Linked DNA regions of Homo sapiens: region 1 is linked to region 2. Evidence: promoter capture Hi-C in 16 types of primary human blood cells and fetal thymus (Javierre and others, 2016). All regions are on one chromosome and are shown on one strand. Each heading gives the region's core, a stretch centred on a gene start or on the middle of the fragment in contact. The rest is flanking DNA. Distances are from core to core; before and after follow the strand shown. Region 1 has its middle 93 kb from the start of RPS6KA2. Region 2 holds the start of CEP43 (centrosomal protein 43).

What was found. Contacts are between HindIII fragments. The CHiCAGO score rates a contact against its expected background, and 5 or more counts as called.
Region 1: a fragment that was not itself captured here is called in contact with the fragment with the promoter of CEP43 in region 2 in 2 of 17 cell types (erythroblasts and neutrophils); the score reaches 7.2 in erythroblasts.

What each region holds. Positions count from the first base shown.
Region 1 is chr6:166,718,298-166,722,379 of GRCh38, forward strand. It overlaps a transcript of RPS6KA2 not described here. Among named protein-coding and RNA genes, the nearest start is that of RPS6KA2, 93 kb to the left of the region's middle. RefSeq lists a silencer at 244-538. The HindIII fragment of the contact is 2,044 bases long and covers 1,171-3,214 here.
Region 2 is chr6:166,997,680-167,001,864 of GRCh38, forward strand. CEP43 (centrosomal protein 43) reads left to right here and starts at 1,718. Exons shown (of 13, transcript NM_007045.4): 1 at 1,718-1,835; 2 at 2,381-2,434. The coding sequence starts at 1,734. MIR3939 (microRNA 3939) reads right to left here and starts at 233; the gene lies at 128-233. RefSeq lists an enhancer at 200-249 and silencers at 790-1,019, 1,310-1,829, 1,920-2,079, 2,090-2,179. The HindIII fragment of the contact is 9,184 bases long and covers 1-4,185 here.

The DNA of each region.
Region 1 (4,082 bases), core at 943-3,442, 280 kb before region 2:
CAGAGGCTGGCATGGGGGGAGGTTAGTCCCCACAGTGCCGATGTAGGAAATAATGCTCAGCCTTATGTGAGGCTGTTTGAGTTTCCAAGGCACCCCTAAACTAATCCATCAGGAAGGCAGAAAAGGCTTTGGAGATCATTTTCCCCTTAAAAAGACTAAGCATTCCATGTTCGTTTGAAGAAAAGTAATAGTTGTAAGGCCATATCAAAATCTAAACCAATACATATTGACTTTTTTATCATACAATAAAATGCAACCGTATCTGAAAATACAAGACACGAGTATTTGTACACATTCTCTTTAAAGTGGTTAAAATAACTTGGCCCCCAAACATGAATTAATGAGGACATGCACCCGAGAAAGTAGCACATACTTCAATACAGACGTATCTGTAAATCTCACCCGCTGGTGTAAGATAGCTGCCCCGCACATGTGCACAGAGGTGACATAAACTTGGCAGGACTTTCAGATCGGTTATGTCTCAATAACTGACCTTAACTTAATGAAAAGTGAGATCCCAATATTTCTAAACACACCGAACAGCTCTTTTGCTTTTTCATGAACCTAGAGAGGGGTGGAACAGGCTAATTAGGTTAAAAGTCTAACCATTAGATTTTTTCTTATTTGTGTGTCTGTATACAGGCATATATGAGTAAGGATTAAAAACATTAACATTTAAAGGTTATTGACTTTGACAACAAGGCCAATATACTTGGCACCAGCCGGCAAACTTTTCTCTACATGTACAGGTAGCAAACATTTTTGGGGCCACACAACCTCTGTCACGCCTGCTCAACCCTGTCTTTACAGGGGAAACTGCCACAGACAACACGTAAATGAATGTGCATGGCTGCGTTCTTAGAATGCGTATTGGACATTGCTACCATTTAGTGAGCTCCTCTTATGTGCTTGGAATGCACTATTTATAAACTCTCAGGTTGGGAACATAATGTTAATTACATTATTCATCTTCCAAGCTCACTACAAAGAATAGGTTTCCACAAATGCTTATTTATGGACATTGAGATTTGAATTTCATACAATTTTTATGCATCATGAAATCTTCTTTTGACTTTTTTCCAACTGTTAAAATATGTAAAAATCATCCCTAGCTCACATAGCCAGAATGTATGCAAGGTTTGATATCAATGAGAGCTTTAAATGAATTTAAGCTTGTTTGGAAAGACAAGTAACCTGCAATCTCTCCTTCTCTGCCATTTTAACTGCCTTTGAACAACACATGTCTGTGACGATGTATCTATGAAAATACATCTATTTTGCATGGTCTTCTTAAACCCCACAATGGATACTCTGAAACTAACTCAGTGTTTGATCATGTATTATTAAATGTCAAAGGAATGATTAAATGAATGCATCTCCAACTCTACTCACTTATCATTAAAACGTTCATCAACGGAGGGATAGTCAATCTCACTAGTTTCAGACTGAAAGCCGACTACTTTCGGCTCAGGAACTGCAAGGGAGCATGATCATCAGTCTTGCATTGATCCCAACAAGCATCATCCTAGTTATGCTGATTAGAGTATATCTGGGAGATCTTATAAAGAATGTTCATATTATAATTTGCAAATGCTATGTGCCAACTTTCAACCACAGTTTCCAGAAGGAATTTCATGGCAAATTTCTGAAAGAGTGGCAGCTTTGAGATATGTGGGAGAAAGAAGTTAACTCTAAACCTTTAGCTGGCTTAAATTCCCAATTCAGAAATCTTCAAGCCCCAAAATACCCTGAGTGCTATTTCTTATAATTACTATTAATAAGACTTTCACTTATGTAAGGATTCCTCATTGAAATAATTCAAGGCACACTTTTAAACAACAAAACATTGTAAAGTGGGCATCTTTGTATTAAATTCCTATTCCTATTTTATTTTAGGTAATAAGTATTCAAATTTTGGTGAACCCTATACAACAATAACTACCATTTAGTGAGCTCCTCTTATGTGCTTGGAATGCACTATTTATAAACTCATAAGTTGGGAACATCATATTAATTACATTATTCATCTTCTAAGCTCACTACAAAGAACAGGTTTCTAATCATTATAATAAATGGAGAAATATGTCACCTAAATAAAAGAATGGATGGGTGATATTGAACACAGAATATCTGCAATGCACTTCTTTTCCCCAAAGGAACCCAGGAACCCAGATGAAAATCCAAGGCTCTCTGACTGCAGAAACGGAGCTGTCAGTCACCACCTAGAAATCTCTCCCCAAAAATAAAAGTGTAAGAGAAAGAAAGGCATTATCAAAGAATCTAGGAAGTCCTTGTATGAGAAACTAGCACTAAATAATTCACTTTTTGAGATAGTTTGAACATATTTCTAACTCTAAATAAAGGGAAATACTTGGTCATAAGAAAAATGACCTCTGTGTATTAAATGTCTAGTTTGTGCCTCGCATTTTACATTCATATCATATCCTCATTATGGACAGAGTAGCCCATTCCAATCACCCTTATTTTACTCAGAAGGAAACTCCGGCACAGCGAGTTTGATTTGTGCAGAGCAGCAAGGCCGTACCTGCCTAGCTGCCACTAAATCACAGGGAGCCTAGAACCTCCCACGAAGCAGGGATGAGCTCCTGTGTTTAATCTCAGATAGTTGAGGAGAAGACGCTTTGAGAAGCTGCATGTTTAACACTAAAGGGTGATTTCACAGTTAAAAGTCATCTTACATACACTTCACAGGAAATGGAAATGACCCCACTAGTCTGTGTACCTCTTAACACCTGAGTTCACACAAGCAAGTGCTCCATCGTTACTTTACAAGGTGACTAATTTCTTAACAATTTCACGAGGATCCCTACTTGAAATCTGTCACTCAGATTGGTGTGTCTAATGAAATGGTTTAACATCAAAACATCTATGGATAAGGACAAATAACACAGGAAAGGTGGAAAGGCGGGGGACATCGGGGGTGCGACTGAGGGTCTCCTCTGCTTGGATGGGTTTCCTCAAAAGACTGCAGCCTCCAACAAGAGAGGGAAAATACCGGAGAGGCAAAGTTACATCTGACAACACTTAGAATTCATCTGACGGCCAGGACCCGGGAGCACAGGCCTAGCCCAGACACTGGGTCCTGACGTGGCCACAGCCACAGCTGAACCCCCTCCATTGCCACATCCCTCCCTTGCCAGAGATTTTACCAGATGGTGCCTAGTAAAAGAATTTTAAAACTTCTAGAAGATCAAGCTTTCCAAATGGCTCTTTCTTAACAGAAACTTTCTAGTTTCACGAACAAAATCACAGATGAACATGCTAGAGCTTCGTAAAGCTAGGCAGCTTTCCGGGCAGTGCTGGGTGATCGCAGTGGGTCTGCGTCTGGGCCCCTCCTTCTAAGACCGAGTCTCGGGGACGGGAAAGATGCACAGCTGCTTCAGGAGCATTTCACCCAGTGGGCGGGCGGCAGAGTTAGCAGAGCTGGACTTTAACAGAAGCTCCCGCCCCACCTTGCAACCTCGCTCATCAGCTCAGCTGCTTCCCCCAGGAGGTGCCAGCTCAGAGGAGGAGCCGGTGCCAGCTCAGAGGAGGAGCCGGTGCCAGCCTCGGCCCCGGATCCAGATCCTCTGACTCAAAAATAGCCTGATTCCTATCATGCTTCCTCGCCGGCAGGGATACCACCATTTGTGCAAAATGTTTAGGTACACATTTCACACATATAGACTCATTAAAATAGTCCACTTTATTTGGAATGTCATAGTGGAGTAAATATAAATACAGTAGGAAAATATAACCAGAACCAAAATATAATCAGAATATAATACAATCAGAAAAATTAGAAATATAAGCAGAATAACTCAGTAGGTAAAAGCAGTTTGCATTTTAGGAGTTGGTGAAGAAAGTGGAGTGTGACTCAGAAGGTCCAATCATCCATCCTAAATTCCAGCCCTGTGTTCCAACCCCTGCATGATTCTGCCCCAATTCAAAACCATGCTGGAACGTGAGCTTGGAGACTGGAGATCCCACACACAGAAGGAGAAGCTGAAGACGCTTAGAGTGGAAAAGCGTTTTGTAAGGCGGGTCAGACACTCAACAAAGCAGGTGAAAGTGATGGAAAA
Region 2 (4,185 bases), core at 468-2,967:
CACATGACAAGTGCATACACACGCACATAAAGGAACCCAGAGACGTGTTTGGAAGCCAGTGTGGACACCCTGTGATCTGTGCGTACACATTTGACACCTGCGTACACACTCACAGACAGAAACACAGAGATGTGTTTGGAAGCCAGTGTGGACATCCTGTGGTCTGCGCGTACACATGTGACAGGTACGTGCACGCCCACATACAGGAACACACAGAGGCCTTTGGAAGCCAGCATGGGCAGACAGGCCCTATCCCAAAGCGGCCGGCAGGCGTCTCCTAAGAATGGTTCTCGGACACACCTCTGAAAGGAAAATACAACTCGGCACCGCAGTTGACTCGGCCAAAGGAAAAAAACTTAAGCTGAAAGCTGAGGCCTGCCCGAAGGAGCCTTTCCTGTGGCGCCTGAGCCGAGGGCTTCAGGGAGAGGGCCGCGCATCGCAGCGCAGCCGCCCGTCTTCCCGTGGCTTCCCTACGGCCGCGGCTCCCGCTGCTCCTTTCCGCCGGCCACGCGGGTCGCACGACCTTCCCCTCCCGCCCACCCTGAGGCGCTGAAGCCCTCGACGCCGGCCTCGGGAAAGGCGCGGCCACCGCCCGTTTCGGATTCCCGTTTCCTTCCTCCGGGCGCGTCCTTCACCGTGGCCAAATCAGCCTCTCAACTGCTGGAGCCCGGCCTCGGACACTTCTCGGCTTACGCCGCCATACAGTGGCGCACCCCGAAACCCCGGAACCGACAGCTCGGCTGGCCTTGCGCACCCACACTCTCCAAGGCAGGGCTCGGTCCGGGGGCTGGTTTTGCCAAGGCGAGGGGCGAGGGGCAGCCCAGGCGGCCGGATGGATACCAAGAGGGCGCGTCAGCTCCGGCGGGACGGGGCTTCCAGGGCCCGGGAGGGGTCCAGGACTCCCCGCCGGCGCCTGGCTGTCGGCGGAGGGCCGCGGGGCAGGAGGGAGTGGAGACTGCGGCCCCAGTTCGGGCAGCGCGGAGCCCACCCAACGCCCTCCTCGGCCCTCGGCTCTTCCTGGGGCCATCCCGCCCCTGCACCTCGGCCTGGCACCTTTCCGGTTAGCCTCGGAGGCCGTGGCCGAGCAGGGTGCGTTCGCCTGGCTGGGGGGCCTCAGAACGTTATTTCCGGGTGACAACCTGCAGGGCCTTCCGCCCCTCGCGACCTCTCGGGAGTCCCTTCCCCGGCGCCCCCCCGGGGCTGCAGGGGCTGCAGGTTCGGTCTCGGGGCCTCCTTACCGCAGTCCGCCCGGCTTTAGGCTAGTGGGCTTTAACTACGTCGATAATATGACTCCGGCGATCTTGTGCGGCGATGGGATGCGGCCGTGGGCGGTGGAGTCCAGGCGGAGTCCGCTCTCCACACGCGAGGGCGCCTCCTCCTCACCGCTCGCCGGCTTCAAAGCTCGCGCCTCAGGCGACGGCAGCCAACGGGTTGCCGGCTGGAGGCCCCGCCGACGCCCCGCCCCTTGCGTGCCCACCCGCGCCCCGCAGCCCCGCCCCCAGCGCCGACCCTAAGTTTCGGCGCTCAGTGGTCCGGCGCTCCCCAAGGCTCGGTGTCCAGCGTCAACCCCGAGGTCTCTATGCCCCGCCTCCCGACGCCAGGGGGCAGGGCCAGCGCGCTGCGCGTCGGGGCGGGGCTTTGGCTGCGTCGGCCGCGTAGCCCGCGCGCGGAGCGTACCCTGCTGCGGCCGTTGGCCGTTAGCGCGGCTTCGGCGGTTGTCTTGGAGAAGCAAGATGGCGGCGACGGCGGCCGCAGTGGTGGCCGAGGAGGACACGGAGCTGCGGGACCTGCTGGTGCAGACGCTGGAGAACAGCGGGGTCCTGAACCGCATCAAGGTGAGGCCGGAGGCTGGGGCCGGGCCTGGCGGATCCGCAGGGCTTGCGTGGACAGCGGGCGTCACAACGGTCGCGGCGAGGAGGCCGCCTCCCTGGCGAGGGACCGGGGCCGGCGGGCACTGGGGGCGCGCCCCGGCATGGCCTCCGTCCTGCCCGCCCCACAGAGGGGGTCGGCTCGTTCGTTCGTGTGGTCCCGGAGGGCACCGCGGACTGGGGGTGCCTGGCCCATCCCCTGCCTCATTCCGTGGGGGCGGGACCGCGGGGCTTGGGGGCCACACGGGCGGCCCGCAGCTGGGCCCTGGAGTGCGGCCCCAGCGTCTCTTCCTCAGGCTCGGGCATGATCCGCGGCGGGAAAGCAGCGCGTCCAGCCGAAGCCTGGGGGTCGGAGAGCTTGTGTGACTGAGAACGTTTCGGAAGGCGTTTCTGACCTTTGCACCTGCCCTCCCAGCTCGTTGGCTTGCTCGTGTTTGTTGCTGGATAAATGTGAGCTTGTTGTGAAAATTGTCTTGAAATTATAATTTCCTGTTTCTTAACTTTTTTTTAAGGCTGAACTCCGAGCAGCTGTGTTTTTAGCACTAGAGGAGCAAGAAAAAGTAGAGGTATGAAGTTTCCAGATTTTAACATGGCTGTATTCGTTAATACTTAATTTCTTATTCATTAAAAACCGTCTTAAAAATAGTTTATAGTAACATATAGCTAGGGATAATTTTGAACTGTTAAGGATTACATTACTATTGAGAGAGAGCCAAAATTATTCTTTTTTCGTGTAGCTTTTGAATTTGGGGGTAATCTTAAGGTACCACAGTAACTCTGATACTAATGCTTAATCTGAAACAAATGGTCATAGGAGTTTCTTGAAGAAATGGTGCCATTGTCAATGTGTTAAGTGCAGGTTCACTCAGATCCTTTAGTAAGCTAATATGTTATTAATCCCTATGAAACGGGGTATATAGTATGCAACTTTTCCCAAAATTATCTGACCACTCAATTATTTTGACAATGAAAAAGACAGCGATTATTTTAAAAGTGCAGCCACTACTCTATATTTAAGTGGGTAATTTAACTTTTTCGGAGTCCCACCAACCATCCTGAGTAAATATTCTGGAATTTGTCAACAAGAATAGAACCATCATCAAAGCCTTAAACTCTTGCTGTATGACAAATCAGTCTACTGTCCTCTCACTTCTTTAGACCTGTATACCTAATCTCTAATTTCATCAAAATCTTCAGTTCTTTGCCCTTTCCATGTCTGTGCAGGCATCAGTCTTCTCTTGGCAGCATTTTGCTCTGGACCCTATGGGTCTGGACCCCTAATTACCTTGCCTTAACGGTCATACGTGGTCTGGAAGAAATCTCAGTGGTCATTTAACCCAGCAAACTAACTCTTCCCACTTTGCACATATGTGCTCTTGGAGAAGAGTCAGTCAATCCTGTGGATTGCTGATGTTGCAAATTGGCAGGTACCAACCTGGTTAGGTCCTGAGCAGGCCCAGCAGCTCTCTTCTTCACCCTAGCTGTGCAGTAGCCTTCTATGTCACCCCTGCTTCCTTCTCTCTGAACACATGGTCTTGTTGCTTCCTCCACAGGGAAGGTAGAAGCCATTAGATCCTAACTTTATGTCCTCCTCTCCTGTCCCTCAATCTATTGCTCACCTGTGAAAATGCTTACCTGTGTCTATGTTTATCTGTACCTCTTTCCTTACTGCTTTAGAAGAAGAGGCTCTGTCCTGTCCAAGAATAATCACTCTGTCTTGTGTATACTTTCAAGTCTTTAATTATTTACTGTATCTTTGACCCCTTCCTTTTCTGATGGCTTTTCTTTTGAGCTTGAAAACATGTTTAAATAACTATTAGGAGTAAACTGTTTTCCTTTACTCACATTCTGCTTTTAATACCGCTGTGGTTTTTTTCCTTCACAACCTGGTTTTGACCACTCCTTGGTTTCTTTAGCATGATCTTTTTCCTGTACACCTGACTGAGACTTATCCACAGTTGTCATTCTGTACTGTCTCACAGACTGACCTTATTCATCCAGTAACTCCAGCCCTGTAACTTTCATGCATGTTTCTTTCCCGAGCTTCAGACCTGTATGTTAAACTGCCCACTGTATTATGCCCTTAATGGGACCATCATTTATCTGGCAAGAAATCTAAGCGTTTCTTAGGCCTTGCTCTTCTTTCCACCTGCTCAGCCATCACCTGGCTCTGTGTCTGTCAGGTGTGTATCTGAAGTGTCCCCAAGGGAGTGCTCTGCTGCCTCCTTTGTGCTTGTTTCTTCTTTTCCAGATTGCCTTATCCCCTTCCTACTTGCCAGTCTCCGTTTCCGTGGTGTCCCTCACCATCTCCCTGAAG